2 separate regions of the Homo sapiens genome follow, and region 1 is linked to region 2. Evidence: promoter capture Hi-C in 16 types of primary human blood cells and fetal thymus (Javierre and others, 2016). All regions are on one chromosome and are shown on one strand. The core of a region is centred on a gene start or on the middle of the fragment in contact, and the rest is flanking DNA. Distances in the headings are between cores, read along the strand shown.

The links. Contacts are between HindIII fragments. The CHiCAGO score rates a contact against its expected background, and 5 or more counts as called.
Region 1: a contact is called between a fragment that was not itself captured here and the fragment with the promoter of STX2 in region 2, in 1 of 17 cell types (naive CD4 T cells). The highest score is 5.1, in naive CD4 T cells.

Annotation. Positions count from the first base shown.
Region 1 is chr12:130,999,495-131,003,725 of GRCh38, reverse strand. It overlaps ADGRD1 (adhesion G protein-coupled receptor D1), which reads right to left. Exons shown (of 25, transcript NM_198827.5): 9 at 3,284-3,343; 10 at 424-541. Among named protein-coding and RNA genes, the nearest start is that of ADGRD1-AS1, 7.6 kb to the right of the region's middle. RefSeq lists an enhancer at 1,121-1,330. The HindIII fragment of the contact is 2,291 bases long and covers 220-2,510 here.
Region 2 is chr12:130,836,606-130,840,907 of GRCh38, reverse strand. It overlaps STX2 (syntaxin 2), which reads left to right and starts at 1,658. Exons shown (of 11, transcript NM_194356.4): 1 at 1,658-1,838. The coding sequence starts at 1,809. RefSeq lists silencers at 1,455-1,964, 2,035-2,094. The HindIII fragment of the contact is 18,553 bases long and covers 1-2,660 here.

The DNA of each region.
Region 1 (4,231 bases), core at 116-2,615, 160 kb before region 2:
AAGACTTTTAAAATCGAAAGGTCATCACCTCTGCCTCTACAATTAGACAACTGTGACAATTACCCTGGAGCCCAGCTGAGAGCAAGCTGACGCCAGAAACCCGAGGCCACCCCTTTTATTCCACAGACTCTTGCAGGCACTGCTGCTTCTGCCTCCTGCTCTGAACCGAGACCATCATCCCAGGGCAGGAGCTTGGCTCCCAAGTCACTGGGAAAAGCTTATGGGCCCCATCTGCATATCATGGCCGAACACACCTGCCCTCATCTGACCACGGGTTTTCCTTCCAAATGTGGTTTGTGCCAGGCAGAGCAGTCAGGGAGACAGAGCATGGCTCTCTGCTAAGGGTGTAAAAAGACAGGCAGTGAAACGCAGCCTCCAGCCCCCGCCCCTGCCATGTGGCTCACCCTTACAAGCGACAGCTACCTGCCATGGCAGAGGAGCCCTCCACGGTGACCTGGGGCGTGCTGCCGTGCAGGTTGGAGGATACATGGCCCATGACGGTGTCAATAGTGTCGATGAGACTCAGTACCACGGCGCTGTCCTGCAGCAACACAAGCACCAGGAGCCATGAAAATCCACCCCACTCAGCCAGGGCACCAGGCAGGTGCACCAGGCACACAAAATCAAGTTTCCCCACGTTGGCCACGAGGGAGGAAGAAGTCACACAACTGCCCCTTCCCATGGATCAGGAGGGGACCACACGGAGGCCACACACCCGACTGAGCTCACGGAGCATGGACACAGCCCAGGTGGACCCATCACCCCAGCCATCGCCGGCTCCTGCATTTCTACACTTAGACACGGGGACTGAGGGGACCCAACTCCTGGTCCTGCCTCCTCCCTGAACTCACAGAGGGACCCTCAGCACATCCCAGACCCTCCCCCTACCTCCCTGTGCTTCACGAGGAGGGGCTGATCGCCCCCAGGTCCACTCTGGGATGGGGACACCAGCAGCTCTGTCCCCTTCTCCATGAAGGGTGGCTGCTTCCGAGGTGCCGGCACCCAGAGCTATCTCTGGCTGCCTTGACTTCCCAGGAGCTTGCCTTCTACTCCAAGAGCCCTCTTTCCTTTCTGAGTTCCAGAGCAGAGGATCCTGGTAGACACTGCCCCCAAGAAAGCAGGGGGCCCTCATCCTCAGACACACATCACCAGGGGAGAGGCCTCTCTTAAGCCCTGCTGAGCTGGGCCAGTGAGCTCTGCCTTCACTGCTTCTCTTCCTGCCTTTCTGGGGAAGCACCTGCCTGCTGCTAAGTCCTCAGCATTCTCCCACAAACACGCACTTCAGAAGAGCCTCATGAGCTGGAAATAGAATGCTGAGGCCAATTTTAGATATTTGCTTTTAGGCCCATAGCCTGATTTCAGTCACCAGGCCCAGTTAAGCACATGGAAGTCTGTGTTTCTGGCATGCAGTTCTGTGGGGTAGAGACCGATTCATGCATTCTCTTTAATGCATATTGGACCCTGCCTGAGTCTGGACAGTTTCCTGGTTATTCATATTTTGTAACAGATTTGCATATTTTGCATTCAAAAGCAGTTAATTAAAATCATGCACAAAATACGTCTGCCTGGATACTTCCATTGGCTGTCCTCTGGGTGTTCCCAGCCTGCAGCTTTGGACACAAAGTCCCCTTGAAATCATGAAAGAGGTCAAACCTTTTAAAAAGGAATTGTTTTCTAGGTAAGACTGTATCCATCTTACATTCTTGAGCCTTTTTTTCTCCCTTTGCCACTGTTAAACCTAATCTCATTCCACTTGAAATTATTCAAACAAAAGTTTATCAAATGTAAACTCTAACGCAATCTTATTAATAATGAGAGAATAAAATGCCACTTCTGCCCTCAAACTGGCAAACATTTTCAAATATTATCAGGGCTTAGGAGAATGAGCACTTTAATATCATGGTGGTGTGGTTGGGACCCTTCTGGGCCAAGGCAGTTAAGAGTCCTCCTCACCCTTCTCTGCCCCTGCCTGGCAACCTTGGAAACCACATATTGAGAAGCCAGCACCGGAAGACAGATGGAGCCAGGATCCCTGAGTATCTGGGTGGAGAAGAGGCTCCTCTGACTCACTCTGGACTTTGCATGGCAGAGAAGTAAATTTCTACTGTGCTGAGCCACTGAGATGTAGGGATCTATTTGTTACTGCAGTGCACCCTGGCCTGTCCTGACTAATACAGTGTTGCAGGTGAATACTTAGTATCATTGGAAAGTGTTATTGACATAATTAAGGAAAAACAAATTAAGTCAAATATACAGTATATCTGTTGAATACATATATAAGTGAATTGAAAACTAGACTATAAGGAAATATACAAGAATGTTAATAATCTCAGTTTTAGGATTTGAAGTGATTTTTATTTTGTTTTTTATTATCTGCATTTTCTAACTTCTCCACAACTATTTATTTGTTTTCTTTTTAAATAAGTACAATCAAGTTATTTTCAGAAATATAGGAAAAATTATTTCATTCTCCTTTCTAGCTATTTTGAGTAAAGAGAACAAGAGAAGCTTTTTTTCTGCACCTTAATCATGAAGTACATATTGTCATGTATTCTCCTTTTTCTTACTAAATCCAGTGACTTTTAACATAAAAAGCTTTCTATTGTCATTCAAGAATGATGGGATGGTAAAGAAAAAAAAAATACATATTACATGAAATGACCAGGATGAACCAAGTACACATTTCTCATGGGGAAAAAACCATCATTTCCTTCTTCCATGTTTAGGACAGTAACACATTACTGACACACGTGCATTTCTTTTGCCTTAGAGGACAAGGCATTCTGAATCAGTTGCATGTCTACTCAAAATGAGCTCTTATATCCCAGATGTCAGGACTGGGAGATACATCATTCTTTTTGTGGATGTGACTGGGCCATATTATGCCACTTCTAGGAAGACAAAATGGTTCCCGAGGCACATACGTTTTGAAGATCAAAATGTTCTTTTCTCTCTCTCTCTTTTTTTTTTTTTTTTTTGTTTTTTGAGACAGAGTCTCACTCTGTTGCCCAGGCTGGAGTGCAGTGGCACAACCTCGGCTCACTGCAACCTCCGCCTCCCAGGTTCCAGCAATTCTCCTGCCTCAGCCTCCTGAGTAGCTGGGACTACAGGTGCCCGCCACCACGCCTGGCTAATTTTTGTATTTTTAGTAGAGATGGGGTTTTGCCACATTGGCCAGGCTGGTCTTGACTCCTGACCTCAAGTGATCCACCCGCCTTGGCCTCCCAAAGTGCTGGGATTATAGGTATGAGCCACCATGACCGACCATGTTCTTTTCTCTTACCTCTGACAGAGCAATCCAACCAGGCAGTAGAAGGATCTCTCCCACGGCTTTTAAGAAGGTCTAAAGGTGGACAAAATGACACTGCTCAGCACCTGTCCTTAGGCAACAAACTTGAAGACCTTCAGTTTTCCCCGCATCTTCCAATGGGTCTCTATCAACCACCAGTTCAGTTTTATGCACGGCAGTCAACAAAAATAGCTGAGTCATGGACCACATGATATGTTACGAAGCCCTTTTATGGACGTTATCTTATTTGCTCCTGTGGCAGCCCTGTCGAGTCAGTGACCAGCACCGGAACGTCAGAATGAACACTGCTCAGTGACGGCAGGGGCCCTAGCACAGCGCCTGGGGGACACGGCAGGCCCTCAGTGAAAGCCCGTGGAGTGGAGAGACGTGTGGGAAAATCATGACCTGCTGGATGCGCTTTTCTTGGGGCGAGAAACCAAACTGACGTGGAAGCACTCGTGTTCACTGAAAATGACCTCTCTAGAAAGCAGAAGCTACTCAGGCCCTTGGTCAGGTCACCTTAAAACCATGTTTGGTTCGGCTCACTATTATTCTAAGGAAACAATGAAATTAATTTCTACTGTTTCCTAATCAGGAGACTTAAATGAAAACGTGAATTTTCTACTTCGTTTTAAAAAAGCAGACTCTTGGACACCCCTTAGCCCACATTCCCATAAAACCATAATTGACCACAGCTGAGCGGCACCGGCTTAGTGGATGTGTCCCCAGCCCACTCCAGACCCCGCCATCCCCACTGCCTCATACGCTCATGTCCGTTTCACTCATCTGCATTATTCACACACAGTCTTAACTGTTTGTCTCCAACTATCAGCATCAGAATTAAACTTAGAGGCTGACCGAACTCTCCCATATTTCCACCAAACCGCCATCTCCAGAATACTCACGTTCTTCCTCACACTCTGAGACACTAAATTCTTAGAG
Region 2 (4,302 bases), core at 409-2,908:
ATGTTTTTGAAAAATCCACTGGGAGAGAGGGAGAAACGAGGGAGGGCCCAGTATTTACCAGAGAGGGAGAATTAAAATGGTGGTGGCAGAGGCAAGAAGGCCGAAAGAAAAGCACTTGCCTGTTGCGGGGTCCAGGAGGCATTCTGGTGGGGAAGTTCAGGATATGGAGAGAAAAAACATATCTTTTTTTTTTTTTTGGAGACGGAGTCTCGCTTTACTGTCCAGGCTGGAGTGCAGTGGTGCGATCTTGGCTCACTGCAAGCTCCACCTCCCGGGTTCAAGCAATTCTCATGCATCAGCCTCCTGAGTAGCTGGGATTACAGGTGCCCGCCACCACACTCACCTGGACAACTGGCTGTCAAGACCTTCCATCGGGTAACAGAACCACATCACACCTAGAACCAAGTCCAAAACGTCCTGTTTTTTAATGTGTAGCCTGTTGCTCTCAAGCAGATTTCTTAGCGCTGCCTTCTGGTCAGACCAAAGCCACCTCCTCCAGGAGGCAGTAAAGACTTTAACCTTGTTTAAAAACAAATCTGGCCTTGCCTTCTCCTCCTGGAAGGCAATCTTTGTTTGCCTGGGAGTCTTCGGCTAGCCAGAGAGTAACAGTGTGATTTATGGTGGGGGCTTAGGGTTACATGGATATCACTTAACCAAGAGGCTGAGATCAAGCATGAAAGCAATCAAACAATCAATCAATCATGCACATGCAATGGAGCCCAGTAAACGTTCTGCACACTGTGGCTCAAGTGAGCTTCCCTGGCTGGCAGTACTTCGTGTGTAAGGCCACACATCAGTGCAGGGCAAGTAATGAGGCCTGACTACACAGGGAGAGGACCACGGGAGGACCTTGAAGCTGCACGCCGTAATCCCCAGACTCCCCCTCTGCCCTTCTTCCTTGGCTGATGTTAATCCGTATCATTTTCCTGCTAAGAAACCATAGTTGTGAGTACAGTAGTTTTTAGTGTATTCTGTGATTCCTTCTAGCAAATTATGGAACTTGAAGGTGGTTTTGGAAACCGCCAGAATTTGCCGTTGGTGTCAGAGGTGATAATGGTCTTGGGGACTGTTCCCCCAACCTGGGTAGTTCACCTAAGCTCCTGCACCTTCATGACGACCTCTCTGCCAGTTCCGTGCCCATGCCCTTACTTTCTTTTCTCATCTATCATTTATTTGTCTGTGTCTGTATTGCCTGTTTCTCCTGCCAGAATGGTATCCCAGGGCTGGGCCTGCGGACGCTCTTCCCGTTACCGCCCCCTGCCGTGTTATGCTCCGTAAGCATCATGTGTGGTACACGATCTCTTCTCCTTCATTCACACCCGAGGCTGCGCGTGGACCCTTAAAGAGAAGGTTCGGCATATGTATTACCCAAAGCTGCACCCAGCACATTCCGGGAGCTTTGCTCTTTTGTCACTATTCGTTGAATGCTCTATATTTTGATAAATAAAACAATGAGTGTGAAAGCATAAAAGCAGATCAAGGGACAAACAGCACGTGTAGCGGAACTGCCAGCCTGGGGCTCGGCCGGACCCCGCCCCTCCCCGCCTAGGCCCCGCCCCCAGGCCCCGCCCCTCCGGGCTCCCGCTGGAAAGCGCTGCCGCCGTGTGGGTGGGTGCGGGGCGCGGCGCGGGCCGGGCATGCGCAGAGCGCGCGGGGCGCGGTTGCCGTGGCAGCGCCGGCTCCAGGGAGGGCTGCTGGCGCCGGGCCGGGACCGCGGGGCCTGAGGCGGAGACCGGAGAGCCCGAGGCCCGGCCGGAGGCAGCTCGGGACAGGCTTGAGCGGCGGGGCGCGCTGCCCGGCCGGCGGGGATGCGGGACCGGCTGCCAGACCTGACGGCGGTGAGCGGCAGCCGCGGGTAGCGGTTCAGGCCCGGCCGGGGCGGCGTCTGGAGGGCGGGCGGGGGCTCGGGGCGTCTTGGGCGGGGCTCCGGGAGGGTCCCCAGGGCGGGGATCTCCGGCGTTCTGGGGCGGGGGCTGCGGGCAGGGTCTCAGGGAGTCCTGAGCGGGGACTGCTGGTGGGGTCCCCAGGGCGGGGGTCCCGGGAGTCCTAGGGTGGGGGCTCCGGGCGGGGTCCCCAGGGCTTCCTGGGCGGAGTCCTCAGGGCGGGTTGGGGCAGGAGGAGGGAGCGGGGAAGGTCCCGGCCTCGACCCCCTCTTCGAGCGTGGCTCCCTGTCCGTCACTCCGCTTGGCGGATTGTATCTGGCGCTTACCCAGCCGGAGCCCACTGGCCTAACTGTGGTCCGCCCCACGGGGTCCCCGCAGCTGGCGTCAGCCCCGGGGAGCAGGCCGGGTCCTCTTGGTCGCTGCTTTATCCCTGGGGCTTCACAAAGGACTGTGCACCAAGCGGGAGGCAACAGATGGGTGTGAAATGTGGGCACCTTAGAGTGCTGGGTGCTTGGGGTGGGGCGAGCGCGAACAGCAGCTTGTGTCTGATCTCCCAGTAGTTTGCTTTGGAAACTGGGACCGTGTGTTGACTCTGAACGCACCTTACGCGCCCAGCAGCCGGGCACACAGCAAGTTACTGTTTACTTTAGCAAGGGAAAAGCAGGTCACTAAAAATTTTGGAAGGATTTCGATGCATTCTACACGTGTAAAGGTGACAGGACTGTGCATGGTGCAGTGACAGCGGAATGATAGTGATGGTCGTGCACTTTCCAAGCTTGTCTAACCCAGGACGGCTTAGGCCAGCAGAAGTAGTTATGACTTTTTCCCTTTACAATACAGGTACTAATTCATGCTACGTGTGTGCACAGATAGAGCCTCTGGTCTCTAAATTGTTGGCAGCCTCAGAACAGGGGTGCTAAGGCCCACAGCCCTACGACACCCACTGCATGTAATGAATTATTCTCTCTCCTCTGCTGCTAGAATGGAGCTGTTATGTACCCCCGAGTGGGAGAATAGAGAAAAGAGCCACTTAAATCATTATCTGTGTTCTGTGGTTCAGATGAGGAGCTCTGGTTGAGAAAGGCAATGATTTCATCCTTAGGATCATGGAAATTATGCTTTATATTCATTCCAAGGAAGTTTCTTCACGGTGATTTTTCCTTTTTTATTAATGGACAAATATTCCCTGTGTTCCGCAGATCAATATCATCTTAAACACAGCAAATTATAGTTGTGTTGTCTTGCCCGATGGATTATCTTTCAGTGCCGTGTAGTAGGAGCTCAGGTATTTATTTAATGAAGAAAAGCTGTGGCTCACTCCTGTAATCCCAGCAGTCTGGGAGATCAGGGTGGGGGCATCACTTGAGCCCAGGTATTGGAGACCAGCTTGGGCAACACAGGGAGACACTGTTTCTCGAAAAAAATTAAAAAATTAGCAGGAGGCCAGTCGCAGTGGCTCATGCCTGTAATCCCAGCACTTTGGGAGGCCGAGTTGGGTGGACCACTTGAGGTCAGGAGTTGGAGACTAGCCTGGCCAACATGGCAAAACCCCGTTTCTACTAAAATAGCCGGATGTCATGGCGCACACCTGTAGTCCCAGCTACTCTGGAGGCTGCGGCAGGAGCATCGCTTGAATCCAGGAGGCGGAGGTTGCAGAAAGCCGAGATTGTGCCACTGTACTCCAGTCTGGGCAACAGAAAGAGACTCTGTTTCAGAAAAACCAACAAAACAAAGCACGCACAAAAAAACTATCCAGGTGTGACTCGCACCTGTAGTCCTTGGTACTCAGGAGGCTAAGCTAGGAGGATTCCTTGAGCCCAGGAGATAGAGGCTGCAGTGAGCCATGATTGTGCCATGCCACTGCACTCCCGCCTGGGTGACAGAGTGAGACATTGTCTCATAAAAAAAAAAAAAAAAAGCTCAATGTCATTGAACGTGAGAGCTGTGACTATTTTGGCAAAATACAGCCAAATTTATATGTTGGGGAATCGTGAGAAAGTACGTTTTCTTGGCTTGAATAGCAAAAAGCAAATAAGGCAATTATTTGTCACTCAGTTTCTATATATCCAAACCCTTCCTGAAACAGTAGAACATGTCAATCAGTTTTGTTCTAGAACGGCAGAGCTAGAAGTCAGCTCATCTACTTCAATACCATCCTGCTTTAGACACAGCAGCTGAGCAGTCAGAGAGTATATCCGTGGAAGTTTCCACTCATGGAGTTTCTCATCTTGGGCAAATAATTTTTAAATCTCTCAAAACTTTTTCTTGTACGTGAAATGGGGACAGTGGTATCTCTCTTGTCCACCTCATAGAGGGAGTTATGAAGCATAAAATTATCTAATGTGTGAAGCTCTGGGAGAAGGTGGGAGGGAGCAAGTGCTATGTAATTATAAGTGTGATTAATGTTTACCAGATTTTT